Linked DNA regions of Homo sapiens: region 2 is linked to region 1. Evidence: promoter capture Hi-C in human tissues and cell types (Jung and others, 2019). All regions are on one chromosome and are shown on one strand. The core of a region is centred on a gene start or on the middle of the fragment in contact, and the rest is flanking DNA. Distances in the headings are between cores, read along the strand shown. Region 1 holds the start of GALR3 (galanin receptor 3). Region 2 overlaps FAM227A (family with sequence similarity 227 member A).

The links. The method cuts DNA at HindIII sites, captures the fragments that hold promoters and counts their contacts. A contact is called where the count stands out against the background at its distance.
Region 2: a fragment that was not itself captured here is called in contact with the fragment with the promoter of GALR3 in region 1 in 1 of the 25 tissues and cell types used here (spleen).

What each region holds. Positions count from the first base shown.
Region 1 is chr22:37,818,197-37,826,009 of GRCh38, reverse strand. It overlaps GALR3 (galanin receptor 3), which reads right to left and starts at 2,628. Exons shown (of 2, transcript NM_003614.2): 1 at 2,245-2,628; 2 at 525-1,287. The coding sequence starts at 2,603. The coding sequence ends at 540. RefSeq lists an enhancer at 6,367-6,918. The HindIII fragment of the contact is 28,947 bases long and covers 1-7,813 here.
Region 2 is chr22:38,638,343-38,646,155 of GRCh38, reverse strand. FAM227A (family with sequence similarity 227 member A) reads left to right here. Exons shown (of 17, transcript NM_001013647.2): 3 at 511-593; 4 at 6,432-6,501; 5 at 7,334-7,410. Among named protein-coding and RNA genes, the nearest start is that of FAM227A, 14 kb to the left of the region's middle. The HindIII fragment of the contact is 6,838 bases long and covers 1-5,127 here.

The DNA.
Region 1 (7,813 bases), core at 1,379-3,878:
AATAAATGTTTTTAGAGACAAGGTCTTGCTTTGCTGTCTAGGCTGGAATGCAGTAGCGTGATCATGGCTCACTGCAGCCTTGAACTGCTGCCTCAAGCGATCCTCCCGCCTCGACCTCCCAAAACGCTGAGATTACAGGCATGAGCCAAGCGCCTGGTCCCACTTAAATATTAGCCATTTATTAGCTGTTGATGTTAAATTACCTAGGACTGAGCTTGGAACCAAGAAGGAGATAGTTAAGAGGTGGTGGAGGAAGCAGGGCCTAGGTGTCACCCAGTTGGAAGAATGGGCAGAGGGACTGCCAGGCTGGCTCTGGGCAGGCTCTGGGGGCTGCCCTGCTGGGGGCGGGCTGTGCTGTTCATATTCACACCCAGGGGTGTCCACTGGGCTGGTGCTCCGCTGTGGAGCGGGGACAAGTCGCTCCACTCAACGCCCCTCAGAGAGCTCGTGGCATTGCCCCATCCCTGGCCCGGTGGCGTCCCGCCTTCGGAGAACGGGAGTGAGACAGACGGACACAGGCGGAGTCCAGGCGGCAGGGTTTATTCCGGTCCTCGGGCAGCCTCTCCGCCGTGGACGGGTCCCTCCCTGGGCTCCGGGCCCTGGCCGCCACCAGCCAGCAGCCTCCCGCTAGGCCGGGCGTCTCCGGGGCAGCCGGGTGGGCCCGAGGACGCGGGGCGGACGCGACGCAAGGCGCGGCGGGCACGGTGGCGGCGTCGGCGGCCGCACGGCCACAGGCGGCGGAAGCGCGCGCGGAAGTGGCGCGAGGCGAGCGCGTAGACGAGCGGGTTGAGGCAGGAGTTGGCGTAGGCCAGGCAGTGTGAGGCCAGGCGGCAGGCGTAGGTGGCCGGGCTGAAGGCGAAGCGGCCGTACCAGAAGCACAGGATGAGCGCGTGGTGCGGACCCCAGCAGAGCGCGTAGAGCGCGGCCACCGCCAGCATGGCGCGCCCCGCGCGGCCCGTCGCCCTCCGCCGCGCCTCGGCCGCCGCCGCGCCCGCGGGACCCACGGCGGCCCACAGGAAGCGCAGCGTGCGCCCGTAGGCCAGGCTCACCACAGCCACGGGCAGCAGGTAGCCGGCAGCGAAGGTGGCCACGTCCAGGGCGCGGCGGCGCGCGTCCTCCCAGGCGGGCACGCAGAGCTCCAGCGCGCCGTAGCGCACGGTGCCGTAGTAGCTGAGGTAGGGCGCCGAGAAGAGCGCCGCCAGCAGCCACACCAGCCCCACTGCGGCGCGGGCGTTACGCGGCGTGCGCAGGGCGCGCGAGCGCAGCGGGTGCCGCACGGCCAGGTACCTGCGGAGGGCGCCTGGTCAGCGGGGCGGGCAGGTGCCCTCCCGCAGGGGCCCGCGCCACGTCCCGCGCCCGGGCCCTGCGGCCCAGTGCGCCTCCTGTGAACCGTGGGGGACGTGGCGGGGATTAAGGGTGTGAACGCGCAAGGTGCTTAGGCCCTTGCACCTAGCAAGGGCCCGATCCCGGTGACTTGTTATTTCTAGGATTATTTTATGGATGCGTCAGATGAGGTCCAGAGAGAAGTGACTTGCCCAGGGTCATCAGCTGGAGTGAGCCTGGATTTGACCCCAAGTTTCAAGCTGTGGAAGCAGATGTGTGCACAGCTTGGCCAGGTGTGGGCAGTTAGAAAATAGCTGGGCTGGGCGCGGTGGCTCACGCCTGTAATCCCAGCACTTGGGAGGCCGAGGCGGGCGGATCACTTGAGGTCAGGGGTTCGAGACCAGCCTGTCCAACATGGCAAAACCCCGTTTCTACTAAAAATACAAAAAATTAGCCAGGTGTGGTGGCCTGTAATCCCAGCTACTCAGGAGGCTGTGGCAGGAGAATCGCTGGAACCCAGGAGGCAGAGGTTGCAGTGAGCCAAGATCCAAAAAAAAAAAACAACAAAACAAAACAAAACAAAAAAACTGATGAACGCATTCGTGAGCTTCTTTTGCGATTCATTTCGCGCTTACAGAGCACTTACTATGTGCCAGACCCTGTGCTGCCACTTGAGACTCAGAGGCGTCCTCTGGAAGTTCACAGTGGAGGAGGGGAAGGGCAGGACAGTCCCCTCAAGCACGCCCTGCAGGTGCCCAGAGGCTGCTTGCGAGGGGTCAGGGAGCTTTTGTTTCCTCCCACCCACCTCCCTTTCTGGTCCCCCACTCTCTCCTTCCTAAGGCCAGTGAGGATCTGTTCAGGACTCCTCCCCCAACCCCCGCCCCCACAGCCCTGCCCAGCCAGGCCCCAGGCACAGCGCACCTGTCCACGGAGACAGCAGCCAGCGTAAAGCTGCTGGCGTACATGGTGAGGTAGATGAGCAGGTGCACGGCCTTGCAGACGAGGGCCCCAAAGAGCCAGGCATCCAGCGTGTAGATGGTGGCCTGGAAGGGCACGCAGCACAGGATGAAGCAGAGGTCAGCCACCGCCAGGTTGAGGATGAACAGGTCCGTGGTGCTGCCAGGCTCCTGCCAGGCACTCGGGCCAGGCTGCAGGAGCACTGCCAGCACCAGCCCATTGCCCACTGTGCCCAGCAGGAAGATTAGGGCAAAGACCACAGGCACTGCCACGGCCCCCACACTCCCTGGGCTGTCCAGTGAAATGTTCTGGGCATCAGCCATCTCCCCATCAGACGGGCACCTGGGAAGAGAAGCTGGAATCCTCAGGCAAGAGCCCCCAGTTCTGGTTGCTTGACCCCGGGATCTAACTCCCCCGACCTGGGTCTGGCCAGGTGTTCTGGGCTGGAAGCTCGTGGGAGATGGAGGAGGGGAGAGCAGAGCCAAAGTCATCGCTGAGTGTCACTGTGTGAGCAAGCTCGTGGTGTTCAAGGGGTGAGAGTTCCTCAGTTTCCTAAGGAACACCCCTGGAGTCCTGCCTGGAGGACTACCTAGGTATTTGAGGGACACTTTCAACCCACGAGGCTGGGGAAGGCACAAGCGAAGTAGGATGAAGATATGGCGATGGGGGGAGGGGCCAAACCCAGAAACTGGTATGTTTTCCTTCTCAATGGGGATCTGAAGCTCAGGGGAGACCCTGGGACATGGGTTTAGGGCTTTCTCTGGCTACAAGCTGTAGCCTTAGCAAAACACGGGTAACATCCCTGAGTCATTGGAGGGTCCAGTATAGTGAGATCATCACAATGGCAAAACTGGGAAGACCGTGTAGGTCACTGCTTCCTCTCTGCACATAGGGAAATTGAGGCCCAGAGAGGGGACATGGGAGGATAATATCACACTCGAAATGGCAGCTCTGGGGCTGTTGCCACCCTGGTATCCTGCCTCTTAAGCTAGAGTGCTCATCTGAGAGCTTGTAACAGGTGGTGCCTCTGACAACTTGTGTGTGTGCACACCGCACCCATGCTCACCCCCATCCCACTCTACAGCCCATGTCTCCTACTGCCTGTGGATCTCCTTGCAGGCTTGAGACCACTGGGGTGGTGGGACAAAGTAGGGGAAAGGGGGGTCAGGCAGGGAGTAGGGAAGAAAGGCAATGTCTGCCCCCATCCCAGCACCCAGCATGCAGTAGGTCCCCAAAGCCCAGGATGGGCAACACCCACCTCCGCCTTGGGCAGTGGGCTTGATCCTGGGTGGAATGGCCGGGCTGGGTGGGCCTCCTGATTCAGCGGCTGCCCCTTGGTGCCTCCCTGCAGGTACTGGTCTGCCTTCTACTTCTCCCCCTTTGCCTTTAAGGCCCCTCCTCTCCTCTGCCCCCTCTGCTGAGCCGGAGTTGGGCACTCCCTCTGGAGTAGCCACTGGCCACTTCCTCCTCAGTCCCTGATTTCCCCCAGGTGGCAGGCTCTTCTGCCTGGCTCTTCTCTGCCTCTCTGCGTTGCTGCTGCCTTTTCCTCTCTCTGCAGCCAGTAACCCATTGATCTCGCTCTCTGTGATTTGCTTTGTAGTTAACCCCTCTGTGCCCAGGGCCCAGCCAGTCTCTGGCACTCCCACCTCCTGTGGCCCAGCCTGATGTGACTCCATCCCCTATCCCTGCACCTTCTTGCTCCAATCCATGTTTAGAAAAGGTTCCTAGGCCGGGCATGGTGGCTCACGTCTGTAATCCCAGCACTTTGGGAGGCTGAGGCAGGCAGATCACTTGAGGCCAGGAATTCGAGACCAGCCTGGCCAATGTGGCGAAACCTTGTCTCTACTAAAAATACAAAAATTAACTGAGCGTCGTGGCGGGCGCCTGTAATCCCAGCTACTCTGGAGGCTGAGGCAGGAGAATCGCTTGAACCTGGGAGGTGGAGGTTGCAATGAGCCGAGATGACGCCACTGCACTCCAGCCCAGGTGATGGAGTGAGACATTGTCTCAAAAAAAAAAAAAAAAAAAAAAAGAAGAGGCTGGGCGCGGTGGCTCATGCCTGTAATCCCAGCACTTTGGGAGGCCAAGACAGGTGGATCATGAGGTCAGGAGTTCAAGACCAGCCTGGCCAAGATGATGAAACCCCATGTCTACTAAAAATACAAAAATTAGCTGGGTGTGGTGGCGGGCACCTGTAATCCCAGCTGCTCGGGAGGCTGAGGCAGAGAATTGCTTGAAGCCAGGGGTTGGAGGTTGCAGTGAGCCAAGATCGTGCCACTGCACTCCAGCCTGGGCGACAGAGCGAGATTCCGTCTCAAAAAAAAAAAAAAAAAAAAAAAAAAAAAGGATTCCTAGTCTTGACTGGGGTTTCCTGGAGTGGGAAACCAGGACTTGAGTCTCCTTTCGGCAGACTCCAGAGACTCCTCCCTCAGGCTCTGCAAATCCTGAGATCCTTCTCCGGAAGCTCTTTCCAGAGCCTTAGTCCAGCTGGAGCCCAGATGGTTTAGGTACCTGTCCAAAAAGTCTGGCTTTACCTGATAGCAACGGGGAACTACTAAGATTCTACAGCAGAGACATGACCCGCACATTTTCTTTCTTTCTTTCTTTTTTTCCCCCCACATTATCTTTTGTAAAAAGTTTGTTATGGGCCAGGCGCAGCGGCTCACACCTGTAATCCTAGCACTTTGGGAGGCTGAGGTGGGCGGATCATCTGAGGTCAAGAGTTCGAGACCAGACTGGCCAACATGGCAAAACCCTGCCTCTACTAAAAATACAAAAATTAGCTGGGCATGGTGGCTCACACCTATAATCCCAGCTACTCAGGAGGCTGAGGCACGAGAATCGCTTGAACCTGGGAGGTGGTGGTTGCAGTGAGCCGAGATCGCTCGCACTCCAGACTGGGCAACAGAGCGACTCTGTCTCAAAAAAAAAAAAAAAAAAAAGTCTATTATTGCCCGGGGTGAAAAGGATGGACAGAGTGGGAGAGATTTGATGAGTGACCTGTTAGGAGCCTCTCGTCTAGGCAAGAGCCAAAGAGGAGAATAGGTCTTGGTGAACGGCTGTGTGATTTGGTCATGGAGTTCTGTCCTGAACTGTGTGGAGGAGGGGCCACATGGCCAAATGCCTCCAGAGGGTTAGGGAGGCTAGCACCTGGGGAGCAAGGTACACTGGATTCAGCAATGAGGAGGCTGCTGGTAAACTGGACAGGTGTTTTGAGGGCAAAAGGCAGTCTGCAGTGAGTTAAGGAAGGGAGGGGAGAGGTGGAGGGGCTGAGTGTAGTGTTTTTAGAAGCTGGGGCTGGGGTTGGGGAGCATCAAGGGGAAGTGCGTAAGGGGAGAGAAAACAGTGTGAGGGGCGCTGATGGAGCCAGGACTCGCATCCCAGGCCGGAGGAGCTGGGGTAGATGCTCAGAACTAGCTCCTTAAGGCCAGGCGTGGTGGCTCATGTCTGTAATCCTAGCACTTTGGGAGGCCAAGGCAGTTGGATCACTTGAGGTCAGGAGTTCAAGACCAGCCTGGCCAACATGGTGAAACCCATCTCTACTAAAAATTAGCCAGGTATGGTGGTGCACACCTGTAATCCCAGCTACTTGGGAGACCGAGGCAGGAGAATGGCTTGAGCCCGGGAGGCGGAGGTTGCAGTGAGCGGAGACTGTGCCACTGCACTCCAGCCTGGGCAACAGAGCAAGACTCAAAAAAAAAAAAAAAGAAAAGAAAAGAACCAGCTCCTCAAAGGCCCCGGGGTTTTCACGAGGGCTCAGAGGTGCCTCTATAGAGCCTGATGTCACCTTCTTTAGATGCAGAAATTCCTCAATTTTTGGAAGCAGAGTCTCACGGAATTGAAACTATTAGGAATCTAATCTAGACTTGCCAAACCTGAATTCAGAAGCTTCAGAATTGAATTAATATATATATATATTTTTGAGACAGTCTCGCTCTGTTGCCCAGGCTGGAGTACAGTGGTGCGATCTCAGCTCACTGCAAGTGCAAGCTCCGCCTCCCAGGTTCACGCCATTCTCCCACCTCAGCCTCCCGAGTAGTTGGGACTACAGGCGCCCACCACACCCGGCTAATGTTTTGTTTTTGTATTTTTAGTAGAGACGGGGTTTCACCGTTTTAGCCAGGATGGTCTCGATCTCCTGACCTCGTGATCCGCCCGCCTCGGCCTCCCAAAGTGCTGGGATTACAGGCATGAGCCACCGCGCCCGGCCAGAATTGAATTAATTCTGAATTGAATTCAGAATTGAATTGCGCAAAGGAATTGTAGACTCTTATGATCCCTGAATGGCGAGACTCAGCTTGGTGGGATTTTAGAAACTTTGACAGACCTGCAACCACTGCGTGAAAGTAACGCACCCTTAGACTCCCAGAAGCCTGGACGAATGTGCATGCCTGAACCCTGGAACGGGCTGGAAAGCATCTGAGATTCATGACTTCGCACTCCTGGCCCTTGGGAGCCCCCTGCCCACAAGGTCCTTCTTGGCCTAGGGCGATGAGCTCCCAGCAGCGGCAAGGCTAAGCTGATATGAGAGCGGAGGTGGAGGGAAGGAGGAAGGAACAGGCGGCCATAAAGAGCGCGGCCGTGAGCCTAGACCTTGGGTGCGCCCGGTGCCACCTCCATCCACTCCTACTGCCGCTTCTGGTAGCCCGCGGCCCTGAACCCCGTGCGCGACGCAGAGAACAAGGACATTGCGCCCTTGGGGCGGTCCTCAGAGCCTCTGATTCTGCAGAACGCAGACTTGCAGCTGGTCCACGGCCGGCCCTCCCGCCCCGCGTGGCCCTACAGCTTGTCGTGGGCGGCCGGCGACTACCGGTAGGCGCCCAAGCCGAAACACGTGCACCCAGAGCGGCTGCTGCGCCTCCTACAGACACCTTCTGGATGACTGCGGAAGAAGCGCGGCGGCGGACCCGGGCTGGTGCAGCAGGACACGCTGAGCCGCGGGTTGGCCAACGGCGTGGAGCCCTACCGCGATCGGCTAGCCCAGGGGGTCGCGGCGCTGCCAGCGCAGCAGGGCAACGCCAGCGGCGGCTCCTGGGAGCCACAGGGGCGGCGACGCACTTTCTGCGCCGCTGTCTGGATCTCGCCTCGTGCCGCCTCACGTCGGTCTGGGTGGACCTGGGCCCTCTGTTCTGGCCCCGCCGGGTGCAGCACACCGACTGCCACACGTCACCCCGCAGCTGCCCGTGGCGCTTAACATGAGCTGCTGGCTAGAGCAGACCATGCTCATCCAGCTGCTGGCTCGACATTACTGGTTGAGCCCTTGTGCACATCCCCTGCAGCAGCGCGCCTGGTGCCACGTGCCCTAGCCGGTGGTGGTGGGCTGCAAATGTTCCTGCCGCTAATGTGGCCACAGCTACCCCAGCCAGGCTGCCTTCCACCCTCACACCGACCCCCCACACCCCCCCTCCCCCAGCTCCTGGACCCCAGCAGCAAGGTCCTCCGGATCGCAGGCTGGGATTCCCTGAATCCCAGCTTTCAGATCCTGCAGGGCTGGGCCAGAGCCCAGCTCATATTACATTGTTCATCCCAAGAT
Region 2 (7,813 bases), core at 459-2,958, 820 kb before region 1:
TGTCTATAATATGGTCAACTCTCATTTATAATTTGCAAAGTATCTCATTTAAAACAAGATAAAGAAATATGGGCTAGGTGCGGTGGCTCATGCCTGTGATCTGAGCACTTTGGGAGGCTGAGGTGAGTGGATCACTTGAGCCCAGGAGTTTGAGATCAGCCTGGGAAACATGGCGAAACTGCATCTCTACAAGAAATTTTAAAAATAGGCCAGGGGTGGTGGTGTGCGCCAGTAGTCCCAGCTACTTGGGAGGCTGAGGTGGGAGGATCGATTGAGCCCGGGAGGTCTGCTGCAGTGACCCATGATTGCATCACTGCACTCCAGCATGGGCAACAAAGCGTGGCCCTGTCTCAGAAAAAAGGAAGAAAGAAATGTGAAAACTCTGAATGCAAAGAAAATAATTAAGGAGAGAGGCTGTGCAGACAGGGGCTGCCCTTCTCACCAGACAAGCCCCATCCTGTTGTGTGTGTAATCATCACCCTGAGTTTCCTTAGCAGACTAACCTCCCAGCATGCCTTATTGGCTCCATGCACCAGGTGAACCAAAAGATTGCTGACATAAATCTGCGTACCGAGCCGTCGGCCAACAGCCTGGTGAGTTACCTATGCTGGAGCTGAGACAAAGCTTCTGACAGGGAAGGGCCCCGGGGATCATCAAGGTGTTGCAGTGCCCTGGGGCCTCTCCATTTATTTGAAAACATGTTTACACAATTGAGTATTCAAAGTTAATTTTTTTAAAAATTAATAAACATTTTTTATTTTTTTTTGAGATGGAGTCTCGCTTTGTTGCTAGGCTAGAGTGCAGTGGCACAATCTCGGTTCACTGCAACCTCTGTCTCTTGGGTTCAAGCGATTCTCCTGCCTCAGCCTCCCGAGCAGCTGGGACTACAGGTGCGTGCCACCATGCCCAGCTAATTTTTGTATTTTTTAGTAGAGACGGGGTTTCACCATGTTGGCCAGGATGGGCTCGCTCTCTTGACTTCGTGATCTGCCCGCCTTGGCCTCCCAAAGTGCTAGGATTACAGGCGTGAGCCACCGCGCCCGGCCAATAAACTTTATTTATTTATTTTTGAGACAGAGACTTGCTCTGTCGCCAGACTGGAGTGCAGTGGTGCGATGTTGGCTCACTGCAACCTCCGCCTCCCTTTCAAGTGATTTTCCTGCCTCAGCCTCCCGAGTAGCTGGGACTACAGCCGTGTGCCACCATACCCGGCTAATTTTTTGTATTTTTGGTAGAGAAAGGGTTCCACCATGTTGGTCAGGCTGGTCTCAAACTCCCCACCTCAAGTGATCCACCCACCTCAGTCTCTCAAAGTGCTGGGATTACAGGCGTGAGCCACCACGCCCGGCCTAAACTTTATTTTTTAGAGCAATTATAAGTTCACAGCGAAATCGAGCAGAGAGTACACTTTTTTCATACACCCTCTGCTCCTGCGCATGCACAATCTCCCCCACTGTTGACATTCCATAAGATAGTGGCACATTAGTTAGAATTAACGGACCTACATTGTTACATCATCATCACTCGACATTCAGAGTTTACAATAGGATTCTTGGTGTTGTACATTCTACGAATTTGGACAAATGATGACATGTATCTACCATTGTAGTGTCACACAGCATAGTTTCGCTGTCCCAACAGTCCTCTGTGCTCCACCTGTTCACCTCTTTAATGACATGTATCTACCATTGTAGTGTCACACAGCATAGTTTCGCTGTCCCAACAGTCCTCTGTGCTCCACCTGTTCACCTCTTTAATGACATGTATCTACCATTGTAGTGTCACACAGCATAGTTTCGCTGTCCCAACAGTCCTCTGTGCTCCACCTGTTCACCTCTTTTTACTCCCTAACCCCTGGGAACCACTGTTGTTTTTACTCTCCCCAGTTTTACCTTTCCCATAATGCCATATAGTTGGAATCATATAGTACGTAGCCTTTTTACGTTGGCTTCTTTCACTTAGTATGCTTTTTAGTTTCCTCCACATCTTTTTTTTTTTTTTTTTTTTTTTGAGATGGAGTCTCACACTCTCGTCCAGGCTGGAGTGCAGTGGCGTGATCTCGGCTCACTGCAAGCTCTGCCTCCCGGGTTCACACCATTCTCCTGCCTCAGCCTCCCGATAGCTGGAACTACAGGCGCCCGCCACCACGCCAGGCTAATTTTTTGTATTTTTAGTAGAGACGGGGTTTCACCATGTTAGCCAGGGTGGTCTCGATCTCCTGACCTCGTGATCCGCCCGCCTCAGCCTCCGAAAGTGCTGGGATTACAGGCGTGAGCCACTGCGCCTGGCCAGTTCCCTCTGGGAACAACCCATCTTTTCATGGCTTGATAGTTCATTTCTTTTTAGTGCCAAATATTCCATTGTCTGAACGTACCATGGTTTATTTGTCCACTACTCAGGGACATCTTGGTTGCCTCCAAGTTTTGGCAATTACAGATAAAACTGCTGTAAGCATCCATGTCCAGGTCTTTGTGTGGGCATAAGTTTTCACTTCATGTAAGTAAATACCAGGGAGCACAATTGCTAGATCCTATGGTGAGAGTTTAGTTTTGTAAGAAACCGGCAAACGCTCTTCCAAAGTGGTGTTAACATTTTTCCTTCCCACCCGCAGTGGATGAGGGTTCTTGCGGCTCCACGTTCTCACCAGTATTTGGTGTTGTCAGTGTTCTAGATTTTGGTCATTCTGATTGCTGCGTAGTGGTATCCCATTGCTGTTTTAGTTTTCATTTCCCCAGGGACATCCGTCTTTTTATGTGCTTATTTATAGTCTGCAGATCTTCCTTGTTGAGGTGTCTGTTCAACCTTTAGCGCCAACCCCCACCCACTATTTTTTTTTTTTTGAGACAGAATCTTGCTCTGTCACCCGGGCAGGAGTGCAGTGGCGTGATCTTGGCTCACTGCAACCTCTACCTCCCAGGTTCAAGTGATTCTCCTGCCTCGGCCTCCTGAGTAGCTGGGATTACAGGCACCCACCACCACTCCCGTCTCATTTTTTGTATTTTTAGTAGAGACTGGGTTTCACCATGTTGGCTAGGCTGGTCTCGACCTCCTGACCTCAGGTGTTCCACCCGCCTCGGCCTCCCAAAGTGCTGAGATTACAGGCGTGAGCCACCATGCCCAACCTTTAGCCCATTTTTAAATCAGGTTATTTTCTTATTGTTGAGTTTTAAGATTTCGTTTAATATTTTGTTTTGGGTTGTTTTTTTGTTTTTGTTTTTTTGAGACGGAGTCTCACTCTGTCACCCAGGCTAGAGTGCAGTGGTGCAATCTGGACTCACTGCAACCTCCACCTCCTGGGTTCAAACGATTCTCCTGCCTCAGCCTCCCTAATAGCTGGGATTACAGACATGTGGCACCACGCCCAATTAATTTTTGTATTTTTAGTAGAGACAGGGTTTCACCATGTTGGCCAGGCTGGTCTCAAACTCCCGACCTCAAGTGATCCGCTCACCTTGGCCTCCCAAAGTGCTGGGATTACAGGCGTGAGCCACCACGCCCGGCCTCTTTGAATATTTTGGGTAACAGCCTTTTGTTGGATTTTCTTGCAAATATTTTCTCCTAATATGTGACTTGTCACTTCATTCTCTTGACAGTGTCTTTTCACAGAGCAGAAATTTTTAATTTTAACGAAATCTAACTTATCATTTCCTTCATGGATTGTACCTTCTGTGTCATATCTAAAAAGTCATGGCCAAACCCAAGGTCACCTAGGTGTTCTCCTCTTGTCTTCTAGGGGTTTTATAGTTTTATGTTTACATTTGATTTTGATTCATTTTGAGTTCATTTTTGTGATGGCTGGAGTTTTTACCTCTCAGGGTGTCTACACTGAGCCTCCAGAATTCATTTATGACAGTTTTGGCTTTGCTACTGGTTCCCATGGAGGTTTCTGCCCATGGGTTTATTCTCCTGCCAGTTGGCATTCTCTGTATCTACCTACCTGTCTGTTCAGTTTTCAGGCAGTAGTTTGCCCTGTGACCTCACTTCTCTGAATGATCTAAGAAGAGTTGTTGATTTTTCAGTTTATTCAGCTTTACTTATTATTGGGACAGAATGGTGACTTATGAGATCCTTACATGTGGACCTGAAATGAGAAGTCTGAAGGTTAATTTTGGTACATTTTTATTGGGAAAAAATACAAACCCTTCAATAATTCTCAAACACACGCGCACACACACGTGCGCACACACACACACACACACACACACACCTTTTCGGGAGGCAGGAGTGCTAAATGTTAAGCAAGTAGCTGTTGTGTAGCAGGCTCCCACAAGATGGAAGAACACAGGCGTGAATCATCTGTAAGTGTCTTTTTGGCTATTTTGGGTTTTGGCAATGTCGTGTATTTGTTTCTTATTTTTAACTGCACTTAAGAAATCTGAGGCATAAATCTAAAGAGCTCTAAGATATGGAGATAGAGAGATTTGAAAATGAGAGCAGCAAAGAAATGTCAACCAACAAGTCGCTACTAAAGACCTGCTTCTCGATGGTGGCTATGAGGCAGAGGATTACAATGATGAAGATGTACTCTTTGAGAGATCCTGTGAGCTGCAGGCAAGTTCGCCTGCAGGTTTTTCTCTCTTTGTTTTGTTTTTTTTTTTTTTTTTGAGATGGAGTTTCACTCTTGTCGCCCAGGCTGGAGTGCAATGGTGCGATCTCAGCTCACTGCAACCTCCGCCTCCCAAGTTCAAGCAATTCTCCTGCCTCAGCCTCCCAAGTAGTGGGATTATAGGCACGTGCCACCACGCCCGGCTAATTTTTTATTCAGGAGCCACTATAAATGCATAAAAAATTCAGGACCCAATGCAGACCCAGGAAATAAGCATCTCTAATGCAAAGGCCCGGGAATCTGTGTATTTGAATACTTCCCCAAAATGCCGGTCATTGGTCCGGTTTGGGAGTTGCCTTCCTGGAGAACAGCCCTGCTTGTAGGCCCTGAAGTCATCTCAAAGGTAAACTCAGCCCAGTGCTGGTCTTACCATCTTTCCCCCCAAAACTTGCTCTTCTTTCAGCATTCAACTATCCTTTCTCTCCCCTCTTTCTGTGCAAATCTTATCCATCCTTCCAGGCCATACAGTGTCTGCTATAATGACATTGGTAAAGATCAGAGATATTGCTATATTGCTACAGTGACTCATACCCATCCAATTCATTCCTCATGCCTTAAATTTCAGCTTACTTAATTGGAGCAACAATGTTAATACATAGACTAACCCCTGTGACCGCCCCCCCACCACTGGCACACACACATACACACACCCCTGCACACATGCCCAGTACCTTTCACTCATGCAGACCAGGGAGTGCTGATGCAAGGGAAAGATGGGGGAGGCCTGGAGAGGTATTTCCCAGTTTATCAAGCTCAGGAGCCTGATGCCACCAACACTCATGTCCACCTCTTCTGGACAGTCCTCTGTGACTGCTCTGGCCCACGTTGACCTCACTTTGATTCGTAATCACAGCAGTTTAGCATTTAATTGTTCCACGAGTGCTGATTTGGCTCTCCAAATAGAGTGTAAGTCCCTTGAGGGCAAAAACACAGACTCATACTTGTTTGTTAACTTTGTTATCCAAGCTCATTGCTGGACTCTTGGTTGACAATCAATGCAACTTGGGTCACTAGCATTCATTTTTCTGTCTTCCTTTTCAGGGGCGTAGGAGGATGGGGGTGGGGAAGAGTCAGAGATCAAGAGAAGTCTCTCTTGAGAGGTCAAGGGTAGATAATAGAGACCCCTTATTGAACAGCTCCTATCTGGTAGCCTCTTTGCCAGTGTTTTAAAATACATTAAACACTTTATTTTTGACCCTTATAAGAACCCTAGAAGAGGCTGGACGTGGTGGCTCACACCTGTAATCCCAGCACTTTGGGAGGCCGAGGTGGGCAGATGAGGAGGTCAGGAGATCAAGACCATCCTGGCTAACACGGTGAAACCCCATCTCTACTAAAAATACAAAAAATTAGCCGGGCGTGGTGGCAGGCGCCTGTAGTCCCAGCTACTCGGGAGGCTGAGGCAGGAGAATGGGGTGAACCCAGGAGGCGGAGCTTGCAGTGAGCCGAGATTGCACCACTGCATTCCAGCCTGGGCAACAGAGCGAGACTCCGTCTCAAAAAAAAAAAAGAACCCTGGAAGATAGATATTATTATCCCCCTTTTACAAAGAGATTAAACAATAGCTTGTTTAATTTCTAATTCCTGCTCTAAATCACATACTCCTAGAAGAAGGGGCAGTGTGAGACAGTGGGGACACTCTGGGGGATGATGTCAGTGACACTGAGGCCACCAGGACCTACCACCTGGAAAGACAAGGCACTGTCCACAAACTTTGCTCCAGGTCTTTTGTGCACCAACAAGAGGAAACGCCTAGACCCTAACCCCACCCTTCTCCAGGATTTGCATTAATCCCTAATGCCCCCCTTTTTCTTGGTTTTTGAAGGCAATTGAGAGATTTGAGTTGGAGAAGAAGGCTTTAAGAGAGAAAACTCGCAGCAGTCCAGAAGACAAAGGCAAAAACCTTTCCCTCAGCCTTGATGCTCTTTTCATGGGGTTTGTTTTTTTAGTATCTAAAATGCAACTGAGTAGGAATCCCAAGTTTCAGATGAGGATGTTTCTGTCTTCTTCTGAAGGAGCCTTAAATCTGACTTCTTGACATTGGGCAAGGAAGGAGGGAGGGGCAGTACCATTTAGAGACCACCTACATGTGGCACCAGGTGCTTTTATCCACATTCCCTTGGTTTTTTTTTTTTTTTTTCGAGACGGAGTCTCGCTCTGTCTCCCAGGCTGGAGTGCAGTGGCGTAATCTCTGCTCACTGCAACCTCCGCCTCCCGGGTTCAAGCAATTCTCCTGCCTCAGCCTCCTGAGTAGCTGGGATTACAGGGGCTCGCCACCGTGCCTGGCTAATTTTTGTATTTTAGTAGAGATGGGGTTTTACCATGTTGGCCAGGCTGTTCTTGAACTCCTGGCCTCAAGTGATCCGCCTGCCTCAGCCTCCCAAAGTGCTGGGATTACAGGTGTGAGCCACTGTGCCCGGCCCCTTGTTAAATTTTTATAACACCTGGGAAGTAGGTACCATTTAATATATTTTATAGATGAGGAAACAGCCTTGGAGGGAGGGGAGTAACTTACCTAAAGTCACAGTCTGTCTGCTCCTCCTTGCTGCTTCTCTGGATCAAGTGGTCTAATCAGATAAGTCGGCAACACAGTTGGGACCTATGAGACTAGTAGTAGGAGTGTCCTCTGGCAGCTCAAGTGGAATGAAAAAGCACAGTTGTAAGCACCGCACAGCTGTGGACAGACCCTGTGGTTACTCATTTATCTCTTTCTCCATTTTTCTGCAGTCAAGAGACAAAGGAAATCTCAGTATTCCTGCAAAGGCTCCGAACTCAGACATGCCAGATCTTCTGTTATAAAAAGGGTAAGGGATCTACTGCTGTGTCTGTTTCTGACCGGCTTCTGCTAGGCATGAAATAAAGATTTTATTCCTGGGGAGGAGAATACTTGGTGCCTGGGTAGTGATTATGAAGGAAAAATCGCAGAGCTCCTGAATCTAGAATTTCTCATAACACCCTTACAACAGCAGAGCTGACCCCAGCCTCAGAATAGGGAAGGTGACAGAGGTCATGTGTCTGTTTATTTTTAGAACTTAGAAGGTGTCTCTGCTCAGAGATGTTCAGGTCTAATCCAGAGCCACTGTGCCATGCAGCTTCAAGGGGCTGTCCACACTGCAGGCTCCTGTGCAGCTGCTCTGAGTCACACCCCATGCTAGTTGTACCACTGCAGAGTTGCTGCGGATGCCTCAGGAAGCTGAGATTCAGGAG